Regions from separate parts of the Homo sapiens genome. Here region 1 is linked to region 2. The links are contacts of gene promoters, found by promoter capture Hi-C in blood cells and fetal thymus (Javierre and others, 2016). All regions are on one chromosome and are shown on one strand. Each heading gives the region's core, a stretch centred on a gene start or on the middle of the fragment in contact. The rest is flanking DNA. Distances are from core to core; before and after follow the strand shown.

Region 1 (5,032 bases), core at 77-2,576, 250 kb after region 2:
GGTCAACCAGGGACAGGACTGACACAGAACCCAGTTGTCCTGCCCCGAAGCCCAGGACCCTTCCTTCCTGGTTGGCCTGGTGGCAGGATGATGCTTCCTGCTCAGCCCTTCCCAGGCACCGAGGCTCTCTCCCTCCTTTTCCCCTCTGCCACACTAGTTCTTGTCTGCCTTTTTTCACTGCCACCCCCTTTTCATGCCAGCTGTGGGAGTGAGGCCCCACTCCTGGCAGGATGGAGCCAGACAATGGGCCCTTATTCTAGGCAAAGAATCCCTGCAGTGTCTCCCACCCACTGAGGCCCCCTTCCAGGCCTAGGATGGTGTGGGTGGGGGGTGGAGGGTGGGTGTATGGTGTAGGGGAAGGAGCAATTGGCTGGCAGGACAGACAGTGGCCCTGGCCCTGCCTGTAGAGATCCCACGGAGGTTTACTATGTAAACACCAATCACAATAAAATCCTGTCTTCACTCCCAGCCCATCTCTCCAAGTGGGTCTCTCTCAACCCTCCAAAGCTCTGGGTTTTTAAACATTTACCCTTGCCTCTACTCTCTCTTGGTATTCATCTCTGCATATCACTGTCTCTTTCATTCCTTTTTCTGAGTCTCTTTCTTTTTCTAAGCCTCTCCTCTCTCTCTCTCTCTCTCTCTGCTCCTTTGCGTAATTTGTCTCTATTTCTTGCCTCTTTCTTGCTTCATTATGCTCCCTTACCTATCTTATCTTTCCATGTCTTTTTTCTCTCCAGGCCTTGAGCTCTCATCTCAGTCTCTCTCTCCGTGTGTCTCTGTCTCTGTTTGCAGCTCTTCTTTCTCGTCCTCCTATGTCGTCTTTCCGTGGATCTGTGTCCTTGCCTCTCTGAATATCATCTCCGATCTTCCGTCCTCTGTTCTCTCTTTCCCCCTGCGCCTGCAGATCTGAAGGACCTTCCGCAGTCACCACACTCTCCTGCTTTCAGCTCTTTCTCACTCCTTTCTGGCACGTCCCAGAGGCTCCTGGCATAGGTATAGGAGGTTATTCTCCCCAGTTTACAGATATGGAAGCTGAGGCTCTGGCTGCTGGTGCCAGGCTCCCATCTCTGGGTCTCTTCCTTCCACCTACACGCCAGGCTCTTGTCCCTGAGGTGCCCGTCAACCACCTGATCCGGCCGGGGCCCGGGAACTAGCACCTCGGACAGCTCCTGGAAGATGCCGGGGCGGCCGGGTCGTCCTTCTCGCGAGCTCAGGAGGAGCAGCCTTAGGAGCAGAGCGGAAGTCTCGCGAGAGTGACTGCTGCAGGCAGTGGCGGCGCGGGCGCGCGCAGAGACGGCCTCGGGCGCGCGCGCGCGCGCGCGCGCTCCCCGCCCCCAGCCCCGGAGCGGCTCGCGGCCGGCTCCGCGCCGCATCGCTCGGGTGCAGCGCAGCTCAGCGCAGCGCTGCGGCCTTTCGGCAGCCGAACGGCCGCGGCAGGTGAGTCTGGGCATGAAGGCTGGGAGGAGAGCTTTGAAGGGAAGCTGGGCGCGGGGCGAGAGGTGTGGGGGTCGCTGGCTGCAGCTTTGTTCCTCCTACACTTCACCTTTGGATGCAGGAAGAAGGCCGAACTGCTGGAGAGGTGGGAGTGGAGGTGACCTTTACTGTTTGGGGCTGGGGGAGAGCGCTCAGGGCGCACCCAGGCCCCCCGAGCCCCCCAAGCCCCCCCATTCCCATCTGTGGCTCCCGCAGAGGGAACTGGGCCTTTGGGTGACGTCAGACCCTGGATCTGGAGCCTGAGCTTTGGGCCCTCCATCCCCCCCGCCAGCCCCACCTGGCGTTCCCTGGAAACCGGCCTTCTGGAGATGGCGTGCGCAGCCGGGGATGGGGGCGACTGGAAGGGGGTGCCCGTGGCTTCCTTTGGGCCTTTCCTTCCAACTAGCGCCTGCAGGTGGACCCGGGTTGACTTCCCTCACCTCCCTCGGGCGGCCGACCTTTGGATGGCGGACCTCAGCCGCCCCAGGGTTGCGAGGCGACGGGCGCGCTGGCCCAGGCCACCAGGCGGGCTCCATCAGGGCTTTGGGTGGTGAGTTGGGGGCGCCGGATTTGGCTCATTTCAACGCTGGCCGGAGGTCACGAGGATGGAGGTGAGGTGTTTGTGAACCGATCCTTGTCCTCCGCCTCGGGGAGCTCCTGGTCTGTGGGTTGGGGGAACCAAGTAGAGACTCGGACTGAGCATTCACTGTCACAGGCGGCTTAAACAAGTAATGTCCCAGCTTCCCGATGGGGAGATCAGTGAGGGCCTGGCAGACTTTCCCAGGGACACAGAGAGAAAGGGAGGCGACAGCTAGCGAATAGGAGACTTCCAGAGGTGATGGGATTTGGGTGGGAGGAGAGGCAAGAGAGGGCATTCCAGGAGAATGTATGGGCAAAGGCACAGGGATGAAAACGAGCACAGCTGTTGGGGGCTGAGCCTGGGAGCTCAGCCATGTGACTGCCCATGGGGTGGTGGAGTCTGGAGAAATTTGCAACCTGTCCCCTACATGTTCTGCCTCACGGAGCAGGGCTCTGAAAGAGGGAGATGGTTCTTGCAGGGGCATGATTGGCAGAGAGATTTTGTTTGGGGCTACACAGGTCTTGCTAACTTAGGTTTGTTCTGGGCTTGGTGAGCCTTAGGGCAAAGTCTCTAGAGCTGAGAGGGGGCTGTCTCTGGTGAATGGGCCCCTGAAAGAGGGTCTTAGGTTTAGCAAACCCCTTGGAGAGTTAGTGGGGTCCCAGGAGGGGAGTTCTAGAGAGAGACCTTGGGCTCTGTGGCTGTTTCTTTAACCGTTTCCTGAGTGGCCACCTCCAAGCAAGTTCCCCAAGTCACCTCCCCTCTCTGGGCATCTCTTTCTAGCACCTTTCTCTAGAGATGAAATAATAGGACTAAGTAGTGACCTCCCTTGAGGATGCTCCTTGTTCTAGTTTAGAGCATCCCCCCTTTCTTCTCCCTCTTCCTTTTCCTTTCCTCCCCTATCCCTCTGCCTCCCTGTCCCTATCCCCACCCCTTGCCCCCCACAGCATTTCCTTTACAGGCTGCACTTCCTTCCCTGCTGCCAGCCAGGAGTTTCGGAAGGTTTCCTGGAGGAAGTGTGATACAGCAGGTTTGACAGCAGCTTTGGGCTTAATCTGATTGGGGGAGGGCGTTAATTGCCTCCCTCCCACCCATTGGGAAAGTGTCCAAGTCTTAAGCAAGTATATGGATTGACTGTGCTCTGTGCTGGGTCCCTCCTGGAAACTCCATCCAGGAGGGAGTGAGGAGATTATGGGAGAAGACGTGAACACTTAGTGCCCAATGACTGACTCAAAATGTATGCAGCGGGATGCAGAGCAGCGATTTTTGGAAAGGCTTCCCAGAAGGGGTGGGATGTGAGAAGGTAGCAGGACTTAGAGGAGCTGATAGTGCTGCCAATTTAGGGGCACTGGAAGCAGAGGGGGCGGCTAGAGATGATCTCCTGCATGAGGCTGGGAGTGTAGGAGGCAGGTCAACCTGTGAGCAGCCAAAGGTGGTGGGAGGGAGGTTTGTAGCTGACTGGCACAAAGCCTTGAATGCCAGGCAAAGATCTGTAGGAGGCTACTGAATAGTCATCAGTAGGACAGGGACAGCATGGCCAGGAGACTGCTGTTTTCTGAGGATTATTCATAGTTCTGGGATTTCAGGGCAGAAGATGGGGCTAGGAGTGGGATGAGGGGATTGGAGGTAGAGCAGGAGGGGGAAACTTCCATCTTAGCAGGTTGGCTCTGGGCAGCAAAAAGGAATCACCATTTCTGTGCCAGGGATGAGGGGCCCATACTGGTGAGCAGGGAGCCCTGGAGTTAGCCCCAGGACTCTGGCCTGATCTGAAGCCAGGCTTGACCCTCGTCTGCTGCCAGAGGCCTCAGTCTCCCCACTGTGGGGGCTTCTGTCCTAGCTTCACAATAAGGAATGGAATACATTATAGTTAGGGTTTCATGAACAAAATTCAGGTAGTAACTGCTATCTTATTGATAATTAAGGTGTTTCCCTAGGCCTACATCTTTGGAGGGATATGTAGCCCTTATCCCCATTATAAAAGATTATCAGTTGAGCAGATTGCTAATTCTTCTGTTTTGTAGTCTAAGAACTTTGGTTTGGCCGGCGCGGTGGCTCATGCCTGTAATCCCAGCACTTGGGGAGGCCGAGGCGGGTGGATCACCTGAGGTCAGGAGTTCGAGACCAGCCTGGCCAACATGGTGAAACCGTGTCTCTAGTAAAAATACAAAAATTAGCCAGGCATGGTGGTGCACGCCTGTAATCCCAGTTACTAGGGAAGCTGAGGCAGGAGAATAGTTCGAACTTGGGTGGAGGAGGTTGTAGTTAGCTGAGATCGTGCCACTGCACTCCAGCCTGGGCAACAGAGTGAAACTCCATCTCAAAAAAAAAAAAAAAAAGAACTTTGGTTTGCAGAGGCCAGTGATTGCTGTCTTCCCCTCCAACCCCCCACCCCCCATTTCAAAGGCTTCCCAGAAACAAGGGCAGAGAAGCCTGGAGCCTTCCATTTCTGTGACCCTAGTCTTTTACCACCCTCTCAAGCCCCAGATTCTCTCTGCCCTAACCTTTATATACAAACAAGGCAGCTTTGCCCTCTGCTCTGGTTTCTGCTCTGAATTATTCATACTTTGCTGCACTGACTTCTCTGGAACTGTAAGCAGACTTTTGGGAGATTGTCTGGGACCAGGGACAGGGGTTAGGCTGGAGCCCGGTTAGGGAGAAGACTCCTCCTTTGAGGCCCCTATGTTCTAGTTGTTTTCTCCTCTCCCTCTGCTTCCTTGTTTTCCTGGAGGTCTTTAGTGCTGGACCACAGTCTCCCACTCCATGTCCCATTGTCTCAGGGGAGGTAGTGCCTCTTTCAGTCACCATTTTAACCAACTACATCTGAATGTGGTCCTCATTGGCATGTGGCCACCTCTGAAATCTTAAACTCTAGTATTTCTCTCTGACCACAGTCTAACTAATGCTTTATGTGCTCTGACCTCAAGGAGACCTCTAGTTCTCAGACACCTCCATTTTCTCCATCTCATGAATTGCCTCTTCCGT
Region 2 (4,729 bases), core at 378-2,877:
AGGATTGTTTGAGCTCAGGAGGTCGAGGCTGCAGTGAGCCATGATTGTGGCACATGAACCCCAACCTGGGTGACAGAGCAAGACTCTGTATCTAAAAAAAAAAAAAAAAGATAGCAAACTTCCTTTTCACATCCAATTTAAGGCTTGTCCTCCTCCTCCTCTTAGATCTGACTGAGATCTGGGTCCATATTAAAGACTCCTTTAGTACAACAAACACCATATATCCTCACGTAAGTCCATGAATATCTGACATTTCTCATATCTACTTTCTCTCGATTTATTGATAGATAGGTATACATTGTTTTAATTTTATGGGTACATAGTAGGTGTATATATGTATGGGGTACATGAAATGTTTTGATACAGGCATGCAATATGAAATAAGCATTCATGGAGAATGGAGTATCCATCCCCTCAAGCAAGGATAAACCTTTGAGTTACAAACAATCCAATTACACTCTTTAAAGGTGTACATTTTTTTTTTTTTTGAGACGGAGTCTCACTCTGTCGCCCAGGCTGGAGTGGAGTGGCACGATCTTGGCTCACTGCAGCCTCCACCTCCCAAGTTCAAGCCATTCTCCTGCCTCAGCCTCCCGAGTAGCTGGGATCACAGGCACATGCCACCATGCCTGGCTAATTTTTGTATTTTTAGTAGAGACGGAGTTTCACCAGGTTGGCCAGGCTGGTCTTGAACACCTGATCTCAGGTGATCCGCCCATCTCGGCCTCTCAAAGTGCTGGGATTACAGGTGCGAGCCATCGCGCCTGGCCTAGAGGTGTACATTTTTTAACAGAACCATTCAAAAGGAGGTTGTGGGGATCATGACACTTCCATGCTACAGCATTAATCTCCTAAGAATAAGGATACACTCCCACATACCATGACACTCTGTTCACACCTAAAAAAATTTACATTTATTCCAGAATATCATCTAATCTCCAGTCCGTGCTTACATGTCCCCAATTGTCCCCAAAACATCTTTTATAGATTTTTTTAAAATTTTGTTTAAATGCCATATCCAATCGATATGGCAATCAAATGCAAATCCATATTGCATTTGGTTATGTCTCTTAGTCTTTTTGCATAAGGGGGGCCTCTCTTTAGGATGCAAAATCTTTATCATCTCTTCTTTTCCACTTGGGGACTTGGGCTGAAAATCAGGAGTGGCTGGAACACGCCCATTTACTGTTTGGTTTTGCAGGTTGTTGGAGGGTACTACAGAAGAACATCCCTCTGGAGAGGGGCCGTGAGCCTGGTTGGCCTAGACTGAGTGCCCTGGCAGAGCTCTTCCTCATGTGTGCAGTGGGAAAGAAGCCCAGATCAGTCCAAAGGCCTAACCCCCACTCCCAGACCCTACCCTACTCTTCAGAGAAATAGGCTCCCTACCCTGAACCCTAAAGACAGCTGTACCTTCATCCCCAGGGACCCAGCACCCCTTCTGGCCTATCCCCAAAGAGTCACCCTGGGTCTTAGGTAGTAGGTGGAGCTGAGGGATAATGGCCCAAGGCCAAGAGTTGATCCTTCCAACTTTGTTCAGTGATCCAGCTTTCATATCAGGTGATCAGGACAACCAGGCCAATCTGATAGGGGGCGGTGTTTATAAAAAGGCCACTCACCTAGAGCCAGAAGCTCCACACCAGCCATTACAACCCTGCCAATCTCAAGCACCTGCCTCTACAGGTACCTTTCTTGGGACCAATTTACAATCTCTGGGATCCCCAACTATAGAACCTGGAAGCTAGTGGGGACAGAAAGACGGGGAGCCTGGGCTAGGTGTAGGGGTCCTGAGTTCCGGGCTTTGCTACCCAGCTCTTGACTTCTGTTTCCCGATTTTAAATGAGCAGTTTGGACTAAGCCATTTTTAAGGAGAGCGATGGGGAGGGCTTCCCCCTTAGCACAAGGGCAGCCCTGGCCCTGGCTGAAGCCCAACCCCAACCTCCAAGACTGTGAGAGGATGGGGACTCATCCCTGGAGGAGGTGCCCCTCCTGGTATTGATAAAGAATGCCCTGGGGAGGGGGCATCACAGGCTATTTGAACCAGCCCTGGGACCTTGGCCACCTCAGTGTCACTGGGTAGGGGGAACTCCTGGTCCCTTGGGTATATGGAAGGTATCAGCAGAAAGCCAGCACTGGCAGGGACTCTTTGGTACAATACCCAGCATGCATGCTGTGCCAGGGGCTGACAAGGGTGCTGTCCTTGGCTTCCCCATTTTGGAGTGGTCACTTGCCTCTACTCCAGCCCCAGAAGTGGAAACTGAGATGATGTGTGGAGGAGAGAGCCAGCGTTCATGTTGGGAATCTTGAGGCTCCTTTCCAGCTCTCAGATTCTGTGATGCTCAAAGGGTGAGCTCTGTGGGCCCAGGACGCATGGTAGATGGAGCTTAGTCTTTCTGGTATCCAGCTGGGAGCCAAGCACAGAACACGCATCAGTGTTTATCAAATGACTGAGGAAATGAATGAATGAATGTCTCCATCTCAACCCTCAGCCTGGTCCCTCCTTTTTTCCCTGCAGTTGGTACAGATGGCATTGTCCCAGTCTGTTCCCTTCTCGGCCACAGAGCTTCTCCTGGCCTCTGCCATCTTCTGCCTGGTATTCTGGGTGCTCAAGGGTTTGAGGCCTCGGGTCCCCAAAGGCCTGAAAAGTCCACCAGAGCCATGGGGCTGGCCCTTGCTCGGGCATGTGCTGACCCTGGGGAAGAACCCGCACCTGGCACTGTCAAGGATGAGCCAGCGCTACGGGGACGTCCTGCAGATCCGCATTGGCTCCACGCCCGTGCTGGTGCTGAGCCGCCTGGACACCATCCGGCAGGCCCTGGTGCGGCAGGGCGACGATTTCAAGGGCCGGCCTGACCTCTACACCTCCACCCTCATCACTGATGGCCAGAGCTTGACCTTCAGCACAGACTCTGGACCGGTGTGGGCTGCCCGCCGGCGCCTGGCCCAGAATGCCCTCAACACCTTCTCCATCGCCTCTGACCCAGCTTCCTCATCCTCCTGCTACCTGGAGGAGCATGTGAGCAAGGAGGCTAAGGCCCTGATCAGCAGGTTGCAGGAGCTGATGGCAGGGCCTGGGCACTTCGACCCTTACAATCAGGTGGTGGTGTCAGTGGCCAACGTCATTGGTGCCATGTGCTTCGGACAGCACTTCCCTGAGAGTAGCGATGAGATGCTCAGCCTCGTGAAGAACACTCATGAGTTCGTGGAGACTGCCTCCTCCGGGAACCCCCTGGACTTCTTCCCCATCCTTCGCTACCTGCCTAACCCTGCCCTGCAGAGGTTCAAGGCCTTCAACCAGAGGTTCCTGTGGTTCCTGCAGAAAACAGTCCAGGAGCACTATCAGGACTTTGACAAGGTGAGCCCGGGGTGCAGGTGGCAAGGGGCACCTTGCAGGGCCTGGGTGCAGCCCCTCCCTCCCAGCTCCAGCATGCCCACACAGCTGCTGTGTTGCCAAGGCCTAGGAAGGCTCTGGACACCTCAGACCAGCTGTGTGACCTGGAGCCGACTCTTCCCCTTCTCTGGGCCTCAGTTTCCTCATCCTTGAAGCCCCCTTCTCAGGGCTCCTCAAAGCCCCCAAGAAAAAAGCCCTGGAAATGGGGCCCTAGCAGAGTCCTGCAATGTGGGGGGCCTATGAGTGAGAAAGCTTTCATTCTGCAGAAACCTAAACCCCAACAGAGGCTAATCCCCAGCTCTGGTGTCACGTTGCTTCCCTGTGTTCACACTAACCTTTTCCTTCTTTGAAATTGGACCCCTGGTGTTATTGGGAGGAAGGGTCAATGGGGCATAAAATGACACTTTAAGCCATACCCAGGGCTGCTACCAGCTCCTGCTGCAAGCTGCAACCCCCTGCCTAGAGACCAAGTTGGGAGGATAGGGGGGTACCCAGCCACCAGGTACAGGCCAGGGGAGTGGAGCAACGTTCAGCCTTTGACCTTGGAAGTGCCAGAGGTGCCCCTAAGCTTGTGCCCCCTCAGAACAGTGTCCGGGACATCACGGGTGCCCTGTTCAAGCACAGCAAGAAGGGGCCTAGAGCCAGCGGCAACCTCATCCCACAGGAGAAGATTGTCAACCTTGTCAATGACATCTTTGGAGCAGGTAGGAACCAGAACCTTGCCCCTCCATCCAACAATGCCTGCTGTTCACCCACAGCCTTGCCCAGCCCCTCAGTCCATGAAATAACCCACCAACCCTACACCAGATGGTACAACATACTGAGATCTGGCTTGGGATCAGGGTTTGAGCCTGGGCTATGCCACCAATTCCCAGTGGAGAAACAGCAAAGTCCTTCTCCTCCCCTAGGCTTCAGTTTCCCCATCTGAACAATAAGGTGTTCTCTGGCCTGTAAGTCTAGGCCCCTATAATTCCAGCAGCTAATTCTGAAACCTGTATCTCAAGTTTATGTTGAAGAGACCCAGCCTCTGTCTTCAGGAAACTCACAGGCTAGGGCCAGAGAAAGCTAATGCTGGATACATACATAGCAGATACTTGGGAAATGATGGTTTCCTTGTTTCTGTCTTCCTTCTTTCCTCACCTTACACTACACGGTTCAGGATTTGACACAGTCACCACAGCCATCTCCTGGAGCCTCATGTACCTTGTGACCAAGCCTGAGATACAGAGGAAGATCCAGAAGGAGCTGGGTACATGGGGGCCCCCAACCCTATAGCCAGGAGAAGCCTTGAGACCCAGGTTGTTTGTTCAGTCTACAAACACCTGTTATGTGCCTGCTGTG

What was found. Contacts are between HindIII fragments. The CHiCAGO score rates a contact against its expected background, and 5 or more counts as called.
Region 1: a contact is called between the fragment with the promoter of SCAMP5 here and the fragment with the promoter of CYP1A2 in region 2, in 8 of 17 cell types (naive CD8 T cells, activated CD4 T cells, non-activated CD4 T cells and 5 more). The highest score is 9.9, in naive CD8 T cells.

What each region holds. Positions count from the first base shown.
Region 1 is chr15:74,994,237-74,999,268 of GRCh38, forward strand. It overlaps SCAMP5 (secretory carrier membrane protein 5), which reads left to right and starts at 1,327. Exons shown (of 7, transcript NM_138967.4): 1 at 1,327-1,437. The HindIII fragment of the contact is 14,301 bases long and covers 1-5,032 here.
Region 2 is chr15:74,747,218-74,751,946 of GRCh38, forward strand. It overlaps CYP1A2 (cytochrome P450 family 1 subfamily A member 2), which reads left to right and starts at 1,628. Exons shown (of 7, transcript NM_000761.5): 1 at 1,628-1,680; 2 at 2,513-3,352; 3 at 3,972-4,092; 4 at 4,548-4,637. The coding sequence starts at 2,522. RefSeq lists a cis regulatory region at 1-297 and promoters at 1-1,718, 1,384-2,521. The HindIII fragment of the contact is 9,803 bases long and covers 1-3,638 here.